2 separate regions of the Homo sapiens genome follow, and region 2 is linked to region 1. The links are contacts of gene promoters, found by promoter capture Hi-C in human tissues and cell types (Jung and others, 2019). All regions are on one chromosome and are shown on one strand. The core of a region is centred on a gene start or on the middle of the fragment in contact, and the rest is flanking DNA. Distances in the headings are between cores, read along the strand shown. Region 1 holds the start of FBLN5 (fibulin 5). Region 2 overlaps FBLN5 (fibulin 5).

Region 1 (7,555 bases), core at 4,264-6,763:
AGCAATCCTCCTGCCTAAACCTCCCGAGTTGCTGGGATTACAGGCATGCGCCACCTTGCCCAGCTCTGATTTAATATTAATAGTCAACATATATCATTCAATCTATAATTTTGTGAGTTTTCCCCCAATTTGACACACTGCTTTACAAAAAAAATAAAATTGCTTATTTGTCTTTCAACCCACAGCGGCAGAGTGAAGAAATTGGGCTTCACTGGAACCAGGAAGATCTCATTCAGCGGATGATAACCTCTTACATTTATGCTACAATTTGCATTTTGTAAAGTTGTTTTATAGTTTTGATTGTGTTTGATTCTGATGATGGGAGGTGGAGCAGATGATAGGATTCCTATTTTGCAAATGAAAAAGCAAAAACGATTTTGTTTTGTTTTGTTTTTGAGACAGAGTCTTTCTCTGTTGCCCAGGCTGGAGTGCAGTGGCGTGATCTTGGCTCACGGCAACTTCTGCCTCCCGGGTTCAAACGATTCTCCTGCCGCAGCCTCCCAAGTCGCTGGGACTAGGCTGCACGCCACCATGCCCGGCTAAGTTTTGTATTTTTAGTAGAGACAGGGTTTCACCATGTTGGCCAGGCTGGTCTCAAAGTCCTGACCTCAGGTGATCCGCCTGCCTCAGCCTCCCAAAGGCTGGGATTACAGGCATGAATCACTGTGCCTGGCCCAGCAAAAACACTTTGAAGAGGAAGCGATGATCTCTGGAAGACAGCAAGGGTCATTTAGCAGTTCATGCCAAAGGAACATTTTTCCTTTTTAAAATAGATTTGCTAGATCAGGAAATGCTATAGGTAACGTGTTTTGATGTTAGCAGAACACTTGACAAAGTGTCTCACGAAGTCTTTGTGGACACGGGGAACCGTTTTAATGGATAGGAAGCTCGTTATGCAGAAGAGGGAGGAATCTGTCCCTGCAGAGCGGAGAATTAGAAGCCATGGACATTAGTTCCATACAGGGAAGCAGATTTGGGTTCAGCTCAAGAAAGAACTTTCTAACAAAGAGAGGCGGGCGGATCACGAGGTCAGGAGATCGAGACCATCCTGGCTAACACGGTGAAACCCGGTCTCTACTAAAAATACAAAAAATCAGCCGGGCGAGGTGGCGGGTGCCTGTAGTCCCAGCTACTCGGGAGGCTGAGGCAGGAGAATGGCGTGAACCCGGGAGGCGGAGTTTGCAGTGAGCTGAGATCGCGCCACTGCACTCCAGCCTGGGCGACAGCGAGACTCCGTCTCAAAAAAAAAAAAAAAAAAAAAGACCAGCTCTTTTGTGAGAGAAGTTGGTCTCGCCTGGAGTCAGACAATGGGCAGTGACCCCAAAATAGTGAAGAAAGAGAAGGGATTAGTGCCAATCTGGATGGATTGCTGCACTCCAACTATCCCGGTAACATTTATTTGTGGTTTTTTCGAGACAGAGTTTTGCTCTTGTTGCCCAGGCTGGAGTGCAATGGTGGAATCTCAGCTCACTACAACCTCCACTTCCCAGGTTCAAGCAATTCTCCTGCCTCAGCCTCCCTAGTAGCTGGAATTACAGGCGCCCACCACCATGCCCAGCTAATATTTGTATTATTAGTAGTATTAGAATTAGTATTAGTGTTATTTTGTATTATTATTATGTCTCAAACTCCTGACCTCAGGTGATCCGCCCGCCTCAGCCGCCCAAGGTGCTGGGATTACAGGCGTGAGCCACTGCGCCCGGCCTCCCAGTAGCATTTTTATTGATAACTGTGATAAAGTCAAAGAAGTCACATTCAGCAGCTCTGTATTTGTCAAAGCTGAGAGTGATATTTAGTACTTTAGACAACAATTCATGTTGAGAGAAATATCTTTTTTTTTTTTTTTTTTGAGACAGTCTCGCTCTGTCACCAGGCTGGAGTGCAGTGGCACGATCTCGGCTCGCTGCAAACTCTGCCTCCCGGGTTCAAGCGATTCTCCTGCCTCAGCCTCCCGAGTAGCTAGGATTACAGGTGCACGCCACTACACCCAGCAAATTTTTGTATTTTTAGTAGACGGGGTTTCACCATGTTGACCAGGATGGTCTCAATCTCCTGACTTCGTGATCCGCCCGCGTCGGCCTCCCAAAGTGCTGGGATTACAGGCGTGAGCCACCGAGCCTGGCCGAGAGAAAGATCTTAAACAGTGGATAAAAATGTAATATGGACATATGTAAAACCTTGTGCTTGCTTAAAAATAATTTGCAGTCCAAGTACAGGGTGGAGGAGATGCTGTTACGTAGCCTGTGCATTACAGGTTGCTTTTGTTGGTGCAAATTCAGTATGAATCAAGAGACAGAAACTGCCAGAGGAGATGAACAGGCTGCCTTGGGGTCACAGGGCACATGAGGAGCAGCTGAAAGCCCCTGGGATGTTCAGCCTGGAGATGAGAATAGTAGCGTGGGCGAGGAGTGGAAGGGTAATAGGAAGCTTGTTGTTTCCAAGTTGGGGGGCCCCTGGCTTTAGAGGGGAGAATTAGATTCCATGAACAGTAATTACATACAGGGAAGTGGATTTGGGTTCAACTGAAGAGAGAATTTTCTAACAGTTTGAGTTATTCAATAGTGAGATGGGCTGTTTTGTGGCGCTGTGATTTCCTCGTCCACAGAAGTGGATAATTTACTATTTATTAAGGATATTTTGGAGGGCATTGTGTAGGGAATGGGAACGTGGACACAGTGAAAATCAAGAGGATAACTGTTATTTCATTCCCGCAACAACCCTGGCGATGTTATCATCGCCATCTTGCAGATGAGAAAACTGAGATGTCGAGAGGGTAGGAGGAAAAACCAAGACTTGGACCCAAGTGTTTTATGGCAGTCTTCGTTTTCTCCCCCTTTCCAACCCTACAATTTTAAGATGGAAACAATCTCTCATCCAAGATGGGTCCCGGGACAGTTTTGCTTCCAACGGTCTCAATTTGCCTATGTAGGAAACAGGTATATTGATTTCCTCTCCTTCCGTGTTCTTCAAGAAGGTTGACAGTATCTGCGAGGTGAATGGACTGAGTCCCTTAAAACTCTTCCTACCCCCACAACTAGTTCTACATCAGATATTTTAAGTTTTATTATTTTGAATATTACTCATATTTTGAATAGGTAATACAGGTACAAGGTACAAAATTCAAGTTATGCCAAAAAGTGAGCAATGAGGAGCGAATTTTCCTCTCCTATTTCTTTTCCAATTGTCTGCCTGATTTCCCTCCTAGGAGATGGTTACAGACCATATGTTTAAACCCCCAGATTCATATGTTGAAATCTGAATCCCCAAGGTGATGGCTCTAGGAGATGAGGCCTTCAGCAGGTGATTAGATCATGAGGGTGAAGCTCTCACGAATGGGACCAGTGCCCTTATAAAAGGAATCCCAGTCTCTGGCCAGGCGCGGTGGCTCAAGCCTGTAATCTCAGCATTTTGGGAGGCCGAGGCCCATGGATTGCTTGAGCCCAGGAGTTCAAGACCAGCCTGGCCAACATGGCAAAACCCCATCTCTACTAAAAATACAAAAATTAGCCAGGCACGGTGGTGCGTGCCTATAATCCCAGCTACTTGGGAGGCTGAAGCAGGAGAATTGCCTGAACTTGGGAGGTAGAACTTGCAGTGAGCCGAGATTACACCACCATACTCCAGCCTGGGCGAGAGAGTGAGACTCCATCTCAAAAAAAGGAACCCTAGTCTCCCTCTCTCCATCATGTGAGGACATAGCAAGAAGACAGTCATCTGCAACCAGGAGAGGACCCTCATGAGAACCTGGCTATGCCCACACCCTGATCTCAGACTTCCAGCCTCCAGAACTGGGAGAGATAAATGTTATTGCATAAACCACCCAGTCTATGGTATTCTGTTATAGCAGCCTGAGCTAAGACCAATAATACTCATGGTTTCTTGTGCATCCTTCAGGTGATGTCTTTTCTGTACGTGTACAAGCAAGAACTTATGTATTTATTTTTTTTCCCACAAATGATGGCATGCTTTACACACAGTTCTGCAGCTTACTTTTTACATTTATTACTATATTAGATCAATCTATGTGAAATTACCAATATTCTACTGTTTTGACCCACAAAATATATTGGAAACCCTTCAATAGCAGTGCATACGGAGCTGTTTCAGTCTTTTTTTCAAAATAAGATATAACATACATAAGACTTCACAAATATTAAATGTACACACCCCTACATAACCAGCATCCAGATCAATCATTAGATTATTACCAGCACCCAGAAGGGGCTGGGCTGCCTCCCAGTCACTATCTGACTTTGAATTTTATATAAATGGAGTCGTTTGATGTGGACTCTTAAGTGTCTAGGTTTTAATTGGTTGCACAATAGTCCCTTTGGAAGCCCCTTACTTTATTTAACCCTATTGGTGCCTTGCTGATCGACCTTAAAGGTGTTTATAATCTTTTGCTTTTACAAACAATGGGGGGATGAACAACCTTATAAACATAAGGTATTTAAAAAAGTGTTTTACAGGAAATTTCAAACACGTAAAAGGAAATAGATTAGACTAGTATAATGGACACAGCTTCAACAACTATCCACATTCTGTTATTCTCCTTTGGGTAGAATTCCATTTACTTACCCCCAAAAATGCCTTAGGGAAGGCTAAATATGTAGACTCCAGAGGCTCAGCTGTACCAATGAATAGCTGCGTGACTATGGGGAGGTTACCTAACCTCTCTTATCTTCACCTCTAATAACATGGAGATGATCATTCCTACTGCTTAGAGTGGTGGTGAGGACAGGGGACCTGGATCAGGGCTTTTCGGCTGCAGGTAGGAAGATGCAGGTGGAAGCAGATGGGATAGGCCACAGTCCATCCACTGGCGTTTTATAGAGTGAGTGCCTTCTGTAAGATTTCATTGACAAAAGTACTCCAATGGCTTAAAAACAAACAAACAAACAAACAAACAAACAGGAAAAAGAAACAGGTTGAAGCCTCCACTAGAATGAATGCAAAGGACTCAGCATGTCTTATGTGCTGTCTCCACCATTCTGCTTTTCCAGACTGTCCCTTCTTCAAATCACCGTTTAACTTGTTAAAATCACTTTCGAGCCAGGGGACACTTTTCCAGGAAAGCGAGAAAATGCCAGGGAGAATCGGGGAATGAGGGCGGGGAGAGAAAAGCGTCCTAAGACTTGCATTGCACAAGCTGAAGTCTGGAATTCGCACCAGCGGGATTCCATCCTCTTCCCCCCCACCCCACCCCGCTGCTCCCCACCCCTTCTTCGGGAAGATCGCGACTCTCCCGTCGCTCGCCCCAAGCCTCTGCTTCGTAGGTTCTGGTTTCCCAATCGATCGTGAGTTTCTAGTCCCTGGAGCTGCGTGGGTCGTGAGTTCAAGTCCCTTTCCTTCCGGAGGCGACAACGTTCTCGCGGGTCCCCTTGCCACGCAGCGCGGGCGTGCACGCCCCTCCCCGCCGGGCCGCGCTGCCAGCCCCGCCCCGCCCCTGGGTGGGAAGGTCAAGGGGCCCGGGCCCTCCCAGCCCCCGCACCCCTGCGCGCGCCCGCCCCTCGCCTTCTGCCCGGGCGCTCGCAGCCGAGCGCGGCCGGGGAAGGGCTCTCCTCCCAGCGCCGAGCACTGGGCCCTGGCAGACGCCCCAAGATTGTTGTGAGGAGTCTAGCCAGTTGGTGAGCGCTGTAATCTGAACCAGCTGTGTCCAGACTGAGGCCCCATTTGCATTGTTTAACATACTTAGAAAATGAAGTGTTCATTTTTAACATTCCTCCTCCAATTGGTTTAATGCTGAATTACTGAAGAGGGCTAAGCAAAACCAGGTGCTTGCGCTGAGGGCTCTGCAGTGGCTGGGAGGACCCCGGCGCTCTCCCCGTGTCCTCTCCACGACTCGCTCGGCCCCTCTGGAATAAAACACCCGCGAGCCCCGAGGGCCCAGAGGAGGCCGACGTGCCCGAGCTCCTCCGGGGGTCCCGCCCGCGAGCTTTCTTCTCGCCTTCGCATCTCCTCCTCGCGCGTCTTGGACATGCCAGGAATAAAAAGGTGGGTTCTCGGCGCTGGACTTTTCTTTCTCCAGGGTCTGGAAGCCTTGCTAAAAATCCGATGGGTGGAAAATGGTTATGGCTGCGATTCAGGCGGTGTCAGGATATTGGAAAAGGCATGAGCTAGTGATGCAATGATATTGTTAATTATAAAAAGCTGCGCCTCTGTAATTTCCATCTTGAAGCGTTCTTTTGGGAGTGGGTATTTTCTAATACAGTTTCAAAAGCCAGCATCAGAGAGGGCTGCGAAATTCTCAGCGCTTCATTCCTCTTTCTTTTCTGGAAAGGGCAGCAACTTTGTCGTTTTAAGGGATTTTTGTATGTATTTTTTAAATTTCGGGAGGCCAATTACTAGTTCACTAGCAATTACTGCGCCGCATCGGCTGATAGACAAGCAGACAGGCTAGCTGAACACCGCGGGGCTGGATTTGCTCTATGTTTGTGTGGGATTCTCACAGAAGTTTCAAGCCAATGAGAAGTGGGAACTGCAGACAGAGATACATGTAAGCAAATGTTTTGCTATTCTTTAAGGAAATTGCAATTACAGTTAAGTAATCCTTAAGTCTTGGAGAACTTTACCTAAATGACACCCACAGTCTTTATTCAGCGAGCTCTTGAAAACATACTGCTTTGAACAAATTAACCTTGTGTGCGTATGTATGTGTCTGTGGGGTGTGTGTGTGTGTGTGTGTGTGCTGAAAACTAAGCTGTAACAATGTCATCCTGGATTGGGGACCAGCACTTCTGTGACAGGCAGTCCTGGTATTTGGTTGGTCTCTCCGGCTTTCCTTGTGTTTCAGGCTGAGGCACAACACCGGCGAACCCACCTGCTTTAGAAAGTTCCCAGGACCGGTTATGAGCACCAACCTGCCTCCCCCCAGCTATTCTTATAGTTAGTTCATTTTTGGAGTTTCCAGGGTTTTTTTTTTTTAATCACAAGGTGCAGCTATTCGTGATGCTGTGAGGCAGTAGTGCTTGGGTATTCTTTCATTTTAGGAAAATCCTATTAGCCTGGAACCTGTTTGGCCCCCAGGACTCAGCTGTGGCTCTTCCAAGAGGCTGGGCTTGAGGCAAGACCTGTCCCAGGGCTGCCTCTAGCCAAAGGGAATGGGGCTGCGGGGAGTAGGGGGAAAGATGGGGTTAGCATGCCTTTTCAACTAGCTCTTGAAGTCCACTGTGTTGCAGTCAGCCTGTTCTTTCTCCAACATAAACGAGACAGGGTTTTATAACCAACTGAAAGGAAACTTCATGTGAAGAAACAGGAAAACATTGAAATTCATAATACACAGACTGGAAAATAAATTTGTTATTGTTCTTTCATTCCTTCCAGATATAAATCTGGCCATGGCAAATATCAAAAAGCCCTGGGATTTGGCTCTGCACTTTATAAGGTCAGAGCTGTCTCCAGCGTTCTAGAATCTGGCTCACCCAGGCACTTACATGAAAACTTGTGGACTCTCAGCGTCCTTATTTTTTGGATTGGGGACTCGATAAAGGAAATGGCCTCGCATCTCCTAAGATCGTATCAGGGCCCTATTCCCTCTGGATGTCAGCTTAACTCC
Region 2 (6,677 bases), core at 2,589-5,088, 33 kb after region 1:
GTCAGCTGTCCAAGAAAGTTGGGTAATAAGTGCTGGATAAACAGGAAGATGAGGTTGTTAGAAAACAGCAACAGCAACATGCCTTTCCTTAGATTTTGTGCACTCGTAGACAAAGTCAAGCTACTGGATTTATAAAGAAAAGATGCTCTTTCCATCCTTCCATCCTTGTTTGGCCCCAGTAGGTCAACAGAAGAATCTACAAACTGGGTGCTCAGCATTCTTAAGCCCCCAGAGTTCAAATCGAATTCCTCTTTTGGCCAGTCTTGGAGAGACTCTTCAATCATATCTTAAATAATGGCATTCTTTTGGCTCAGCTCTATGGATACTCCTCCTTCCGCCCCCAGTCCCCTGACCTTCTGCCCTCTTGTTTCTTGGCTGAAAATCTGGGTCTGCTGTAGAGAGCAAGAGCAGTTTCAGCAGAGCTGGGGTCCTTCCCACAAATCCAGAGCCACACACTCCAGAAAGCCTGACTATGCAGAAACAGCTGGGTTTTGGCAGGCTGATTCTGAAAAGCTTCGAATCACTTAGAAGCACTTTGTTCCCAAATGGTATGTGGAGGATGAGGAATGTACCATCAGATGAGGCAGGTCACCCATCTTGTTATGAGAGGACTCATTTGAGGACTGTCCCTTGAAACAGCTTCCCTGACCTCCCACCTTTACCTTATTCTAGATGTGACACTCCCAACTGGTTCATGGGTGGTACAGGTGCCTGGATATTGATCTCTTCAGCTCTTGGGTTGGGGGGCAGGGGCTTCAGAGGGAGGCTTAGTCCTTGGGCCAATTTGCCCATTCCATTGTACCTTACACACTTGTGTAATGTTCTATGTGTGCCTCAACATGAAAAAGGTTAAGAAGGGCAACTTTAGACTGGCGTGCTCTGCAGAGATTTCTAGGAACATAGAGCAAATTTCTCATTTACCTTTTAAAGTGAAATACATTCACTTGTTACTCTTGGTGCTGTGGCTTTTGATGAAGCAAATGCCAACATTAGGACTCTGTGTCTCCATAAAGCTATAGGGAAATTTGATTAAATTCAGTGTATTAGTCATCAGGACTTTTTGATTGCAACTGACAGAAACCCAGCTCCAAGTAGCTTAAGCAAAACAACAATAAACTACCTAAACGTATTTTGTTTTTTCTTTCTTTCTTTTTTTTTTTTTTTTTTTTTTTTTGAGATGGAGTCTCACTCTGTCACCCAGGCTGGAGCGCAGTGGCTTGATCTTGGCTCACTGCAACCTCTACCTCCCGCATTTAAGCAATTCTCCTGTCTCAGCCTCCCGAGTAGCTGGGACTACAGTTGCACGCCACCATGCCCAGCTAATGTGTGTATTTTTAGTGGAGACATGTTTCACTATATTGGTCAGGCTGGTCTTGAATTCCTGACCTTGTGATCCACCCACCTCGGCCTCCCAAAGTGCTGGGATTACAGGCGTGAGCCACCACACCCAGCCTAATTTGTTTTTTCATAACTGAAAGCTGAGAAGTAGAACTAGCTTCAGACATGCCTGAGGGCAAGGGCTTAAGTAGTGTCATATGGCCTTCATTTTTTTCTCTCTCTCCAATGACTATCTCTAAAACATAGGCTTCTTCATTCTCAGGGCAGGATCTCTCAAGTGGAGGCCGCTGGCAGCTCCAGGCTTATGTCTTTCTAGTTTAACAACCCAGAGAGATTGCCTTAATCTCGAGCTCTGGCAAAAGGTCATAGTTGGGCTCTAGTAGCCAGCATGGGTCACAAGCCCATCCCTGAGTTCGTCACAATGACTAGCAACCCATGGGCTTTGATTTAGCAAGCCTACATCACAAGCCCACCCCGGAACCAGCAGTGGGTCCAAAGCTACCTGCCGTGCATGGACCAAAAGTGCAGAAAGGCAGTTCCTTAAAGGAAAATTAGGGTGCTGTTACCGGATGAAGGAAGTTTGGATGGTGGGAGGGCAAGAGCTGTACCTGGAATCCTAACTTTTGCATGGAAAGAGAAGAAACAGAAGGACCCAAAGTTTGTTCTGAGCCCACAGTGACAGATAACAAAGGATGCACTCACTCACTAAAGGATGCACTATCTCAGTCATACACACACCCTTCCATGACATTGGGGGATGGTCACTAGTAACAAAAGTAGGGGCCTAGAGCTGCCATCTGAGCTGCTCACCTGTCCTCAGGTAAGCAAGTACTGATACTGCCCCCAAAGAAAACTAACTCTCCCTTTCATTGAAAGTTATCAGGTAGATAATACCATGAATCCTCTTTACAGAACATCTGAAGAAATGCCTAGTCCCTCACCTGAATTCTTTTTTGTTTGATTTTGAGACAGAATCTCGCTCTGTCACCCAGGCAGGAGTGCAGTGGTGCGATCTCCTCTCACGGCAACCTCCGCCTCCCACGTTCAAGCGATTCTCTGTCTCAGCCTCCTGAGTAGCTGGGATTACAGGCACCGGCCACCAGGCCTGGCTAATTTTTGTATTCTTTTTGTAGAGATGGGGTTTCACCATGTTGGCCAGGCTGGTCTCAAACTCCTGGCCTCAAGTGATCCACCTACCTCGGCCTCCCAAAGTGCTGTGATTACAGGCGTGAGCCACCGTGCCTGGCCACCTGAATTCTTTTGAGCTGTTCTTTGTTATCCTGCCCTTAGGAACAACAAAAAATAAAAGGCAAAGAATGGTAGATTTTTACCATATGTAACCATCATTATCTTTGGTCATGTTATAGTATGATTTGTTTACAATATACTGCTGGATTTGTTTGGCTAACATTTTATTTAGGATTTTTGTCATTAATGTCTATAAAGTAGAATGACCTGCCACATTTCTTTTTTAATATTACTCTTACTAGTTTTGGTGTCCACATATAAGCTTGATAGAGTGAGATATTGTTCCTTTTCTATTCTCTGGAAAGTTAGAATGGTCTAACCTTAGGTCATTCATGGAAATTTTATTCAAATTCAATTCATGGAAAGTTTATTTGAATTTGCCTATAAGATCATTGAGATTTGGTATTTTTGGGTGTGTGAGTGGGAAGATTTTTAGCTACTGATATGATTTCTTTTTTTTTTTTTTTTTTTTTTTTTGAGATGGAGTCTTGCTCTGTCGCCCAGGCTGGAGTGCAGTGGCGTGATATCGGCTCACTGCAACCTCCGCCTCCCGGGTTCATGCCATTCTCCTGCCTCAGCCTCCTGAGTAGCTGGGACTACAGGTGCCCACCACCACGCCTGGGCTAATTTTTTTGTATTTTTAATAGAGACGGGGTTTCACCATATTAGCCAGGATAGTCTCGATCTCCTGACCTCGTGATCCACCCGCCTTGGCCTCCCAAAGTGCTGGGATTACAGGCGTGAGCCACCGTGCTTGGCCGCTACGATATAATTTCTTAAAGTTAGGGGACTGTTTGCACTTTCTGTTTCTTCTTAAGTCAGTTTTACATAGTTACCTTTTTCTAAGAACTTGTCTACTTAATAAGTTTTTAGCTTCATTTGCATAAGCTTTTTCTTACCATTCTTTGTGTTATCTATTTGATCTTTGCTGACTTTGTAGTTCTGTTGTATTTTCATTCCCAATATTGTGCTAACTCTTTTTTTTTTATTATTTTTTATTTTTTTAGACAGAAACTTGCTCTGTTGCCCAGGCTGGAGTGCAGTGGTGCGATCTTGGCTCACTGCAACCTCCACTCCCTGGGTTCAAGTGATTCTCCTGCCTCAGCCTCCTAAGTAGCTGGGATTACAGGTGCTCGCCACCACACCCAGCTAATTTTTGAATTTTTAGTAGAGATGGGGTTTCACCATGTTGGTCAGGCTGGTCTTAAACTCCTGACCTCAGATGATCTGCCTGCCTCAGCCTCCCAAAGTGCTGGGATTACAGGTGTGAGTCACTGCACCCAGCCTTGTGTTAATTCTTTAATTAAAAAACAAAAAACAAAACAAAACAAAACAAAACAAAAAAAAAAACCACACAGATATTGCCAGAGTCATATCAGTTTGCTGTTTTCAAAAAGAAATATTTTGCTTTGTTGCTCTCCCCGATCTCTTTCTTTTCCTTTTGCTTTTATTTCATCAATTCCTGTTTTTTATTCTTTTCTTTCTATGTTTTGGATTTGTTTCTGTTTAAATTTTTTTCTTTTTTTATTTTTTCGAGAGTCTCATTCTGTTGCCTAGGCTGTATGCAGTGGCATGATCATGGTTCACTGCAGCTTTGATCTCCTGGGCCTCAAGTATCTGGGACCACAGGTATGTACTATACTGCCCAGCTAATATTTGTTGTTTTTTTTTTTTTTTTTTTTTTTTGAGACAGAGTCTCACTCTGTCGCCCAGGCTGGAGTGCAGTGGCATGATCTCGGCTCACTGCAAGCTCCGCCTCCTGGGTTCATGCCATTCTCCTGCCTCAGCCTCCTGAGTAGCTGGGACTACAGGCGCCTGCCACCACGCTCGGCTAAATTTTTTTGTATTTTTGTAGAGACAGGGTTTCACTGTGTTAGCCAGGATGGTCTCGATCTCCTGACCTCGTGATCTGCCTGCCTCGGCCTCCCAAAGTGCTGGGATTACAGGCATGAGCTACTGCGCCCAGCTAATATTTGTATTTTATGTAGAGGCAGGGCCTCGCCATGTTTCTCAGGCTGGTCTCGAACTCTTGAGCTCAAGTGATCTGCCTGCCTTGGCCTCCCAAAGTGCTAGGATTACAGATATGAGCAACTGTGCATGGCCCCTTTTCTAATTTCTTAAGCTGGTTGCTTAGCTCATTAACTGTAAGCCTTTCTTCTTTCATTAAGTCAGCACTTAAGACTACATATTTTTTGGTGTGACCTATAAGTTTGGATGTATGGTATTTATTGCTATTAAGTTGTAAGAATTTTTAATTTTCCCTGTAATCACTTCTTGTTATCCATGATTTATTTAGTGGTGAGTTTCTGAATGTTACACATTTATGGGGATTTAAATTATCTTTTTGTTATTGATTTATAACTTAATTGCGTTGTCATCAGGACATAGGGTCTTCATGATTTATTCACTTTGGTATCCACAATGCCTAGCACAATGCCAAGAATGTAGATGTCATTTAGTAAGTATTTGCTGATATAATTGAATGATAGTTGAGTGAACATCTATTGACCAGGCGTTAGAAGAATTATCTCTGCTCAAATTGTCCAATCCTTCCAGCTACTTGATATTCCAAAATAACTCCACAAATGGGCACTGGAAATATAATGGCCCCTCAAAATTGTCTTCTATGCTGCTCACTCCTTTCCTCCTTTGGCCTGGAAAACAGGCACTGAGTGGGTGAGTGAGAGGATAGTAAAACTGGCAGTGTGAGACCATCACACCCAGTCTCATACATAATAGATTTAGGTAACGGTTCTCCCTCTTATTTCTTATATGACCCAGAGAAATGCATTTCTTCTTTAATAGTAATAGGCTCTATTAATACATTTTAGGTGGCATTTCCTCTAGTGGAATCTCTTATCTCATTGAATCCTCCAAAATATTCAGGCATGATATTCCCATTTTAAAAATGGGGAAATGGACATAAAGCTAGTTAGTGGAGGGGCTGGTTGGGTTCGTGATGTGTATTTTTTGTTCTGTACACGAACCATCTCCACCTCATTTTTATCACTTATAATGACAGGGTAGTAACACCTTAGACTTCCCTAAGGGAATAGAGGTAGATAAAAACTTGTGATTGAATTATACTTGTAAAAGGGCGTTTGAAGACAAATAATGAAAAATACGAATCCATTCTGCACTACTCAATATGGAGTACATATTGAGTTAATACACATTGGTTAATACATATTGGTTAAATGAATGAATGGATGAATGGATGGATGAGTGAACAGCTCTTATTTTGATGAGTACATTTTCTGCTTTTTGGATCAACAACCTCTTTAGCATATTAAAGAAGAAAAGTGTCTCAGTCTTTTCCTGAGCCCCTAAGAACTGCTTTTTTTTTTTTTTTTTGAGTCAGAGTCTCACTCTGTCACCCAGGCTGGAGTGCAATGGTACAAACATGGCTCATGGCAGCCTCGATTTCCCGGGCTCAAGCGATCCTCCAACCTTAGCCTCCCGAGTAGCTGGGACCACGGGTGCACACCACTATGCCCAGCTAATTTTTTTCTTTTCTTTGAGATATCGTCTAGCTCTGTCACCCAGGCTGGAGTGCAGTGGCACAATCTCGACTCACTGCAACCTCCGCCTCCTGGGTTCAATTGATTCTCCTGCCTCAGCCTCCCAAGTAGCTGAGATTACAGGTGTGTGCCACCACGCCTGGCTAATTTTTGTATTTTTAGTAGATACAGGGTTTCACCACGTTGGCCAGGCTGGTCTTGAACTCCTGACCTCAAGTGATCTGCCCACCTCGGTCTCCCATAAATGCTAGGATTACAGGTGTGGGCCACCACGTCCTGCCCAGCTAATTTTTCTATTTTTTATTTTTTGTAGAGACAGGGTCTCGCTATGTTGCTCAGGCTGGTCTCTAACTCCTGGCCTCACGTGATCCTCACACCTTAACCTTCCAAAGTGTTGGGATTACAGGCATGAGTCACCATACCCAGCCCCGAAGGGCCTTTTGAAGATGCCTACTTAAAAAGTCTTGAAAGAGGTCCAAAGGGAAATGTTAGAACTTCCTTATTTTAGAGCAAATCTCAGGAAATATGGCAGTGTTTATACATTATAACATTTAGATAGTACAACAACAT

What was found. Contacts are between HindIII fragments. The study calls those that stand out against the background at their distance.
Region 2: a contact is called between a fragment that was not itself captured here and the fragment with the promoter of FBLN5 in region 1, in 2 of the 25 tissues and cell types used here (aorta and pancreas).

The regions. Positions count from the first base shown.
Region 1 is chr14:91,945,652-91,953,206 of GRCh38, reverse strand. It overlaps FBLN5 (fibulin 5), which reads left to right and starts at 5,513. Exons shown (of 11, transcript NM_006329.4): 1 at 5,513-5,994. The coding sequence starts at 5,978. The HindIII fragment of the contact is 12,789 bases long and covers 1-7,555 here.
Region 2 is chr14:91,912,073-91,918,749 of GRCh38, reverse strand. The region is part of intron 4 of FBLN5 (fibulin 5); the gene reads left to right. Among named protein-coding and RNA genes, the nearest start is that of FBLN5, 32 kb to the left of the region's middle. The HindIII fragment of the contact is 4,313 bases long and covers 1,682-5,994 here.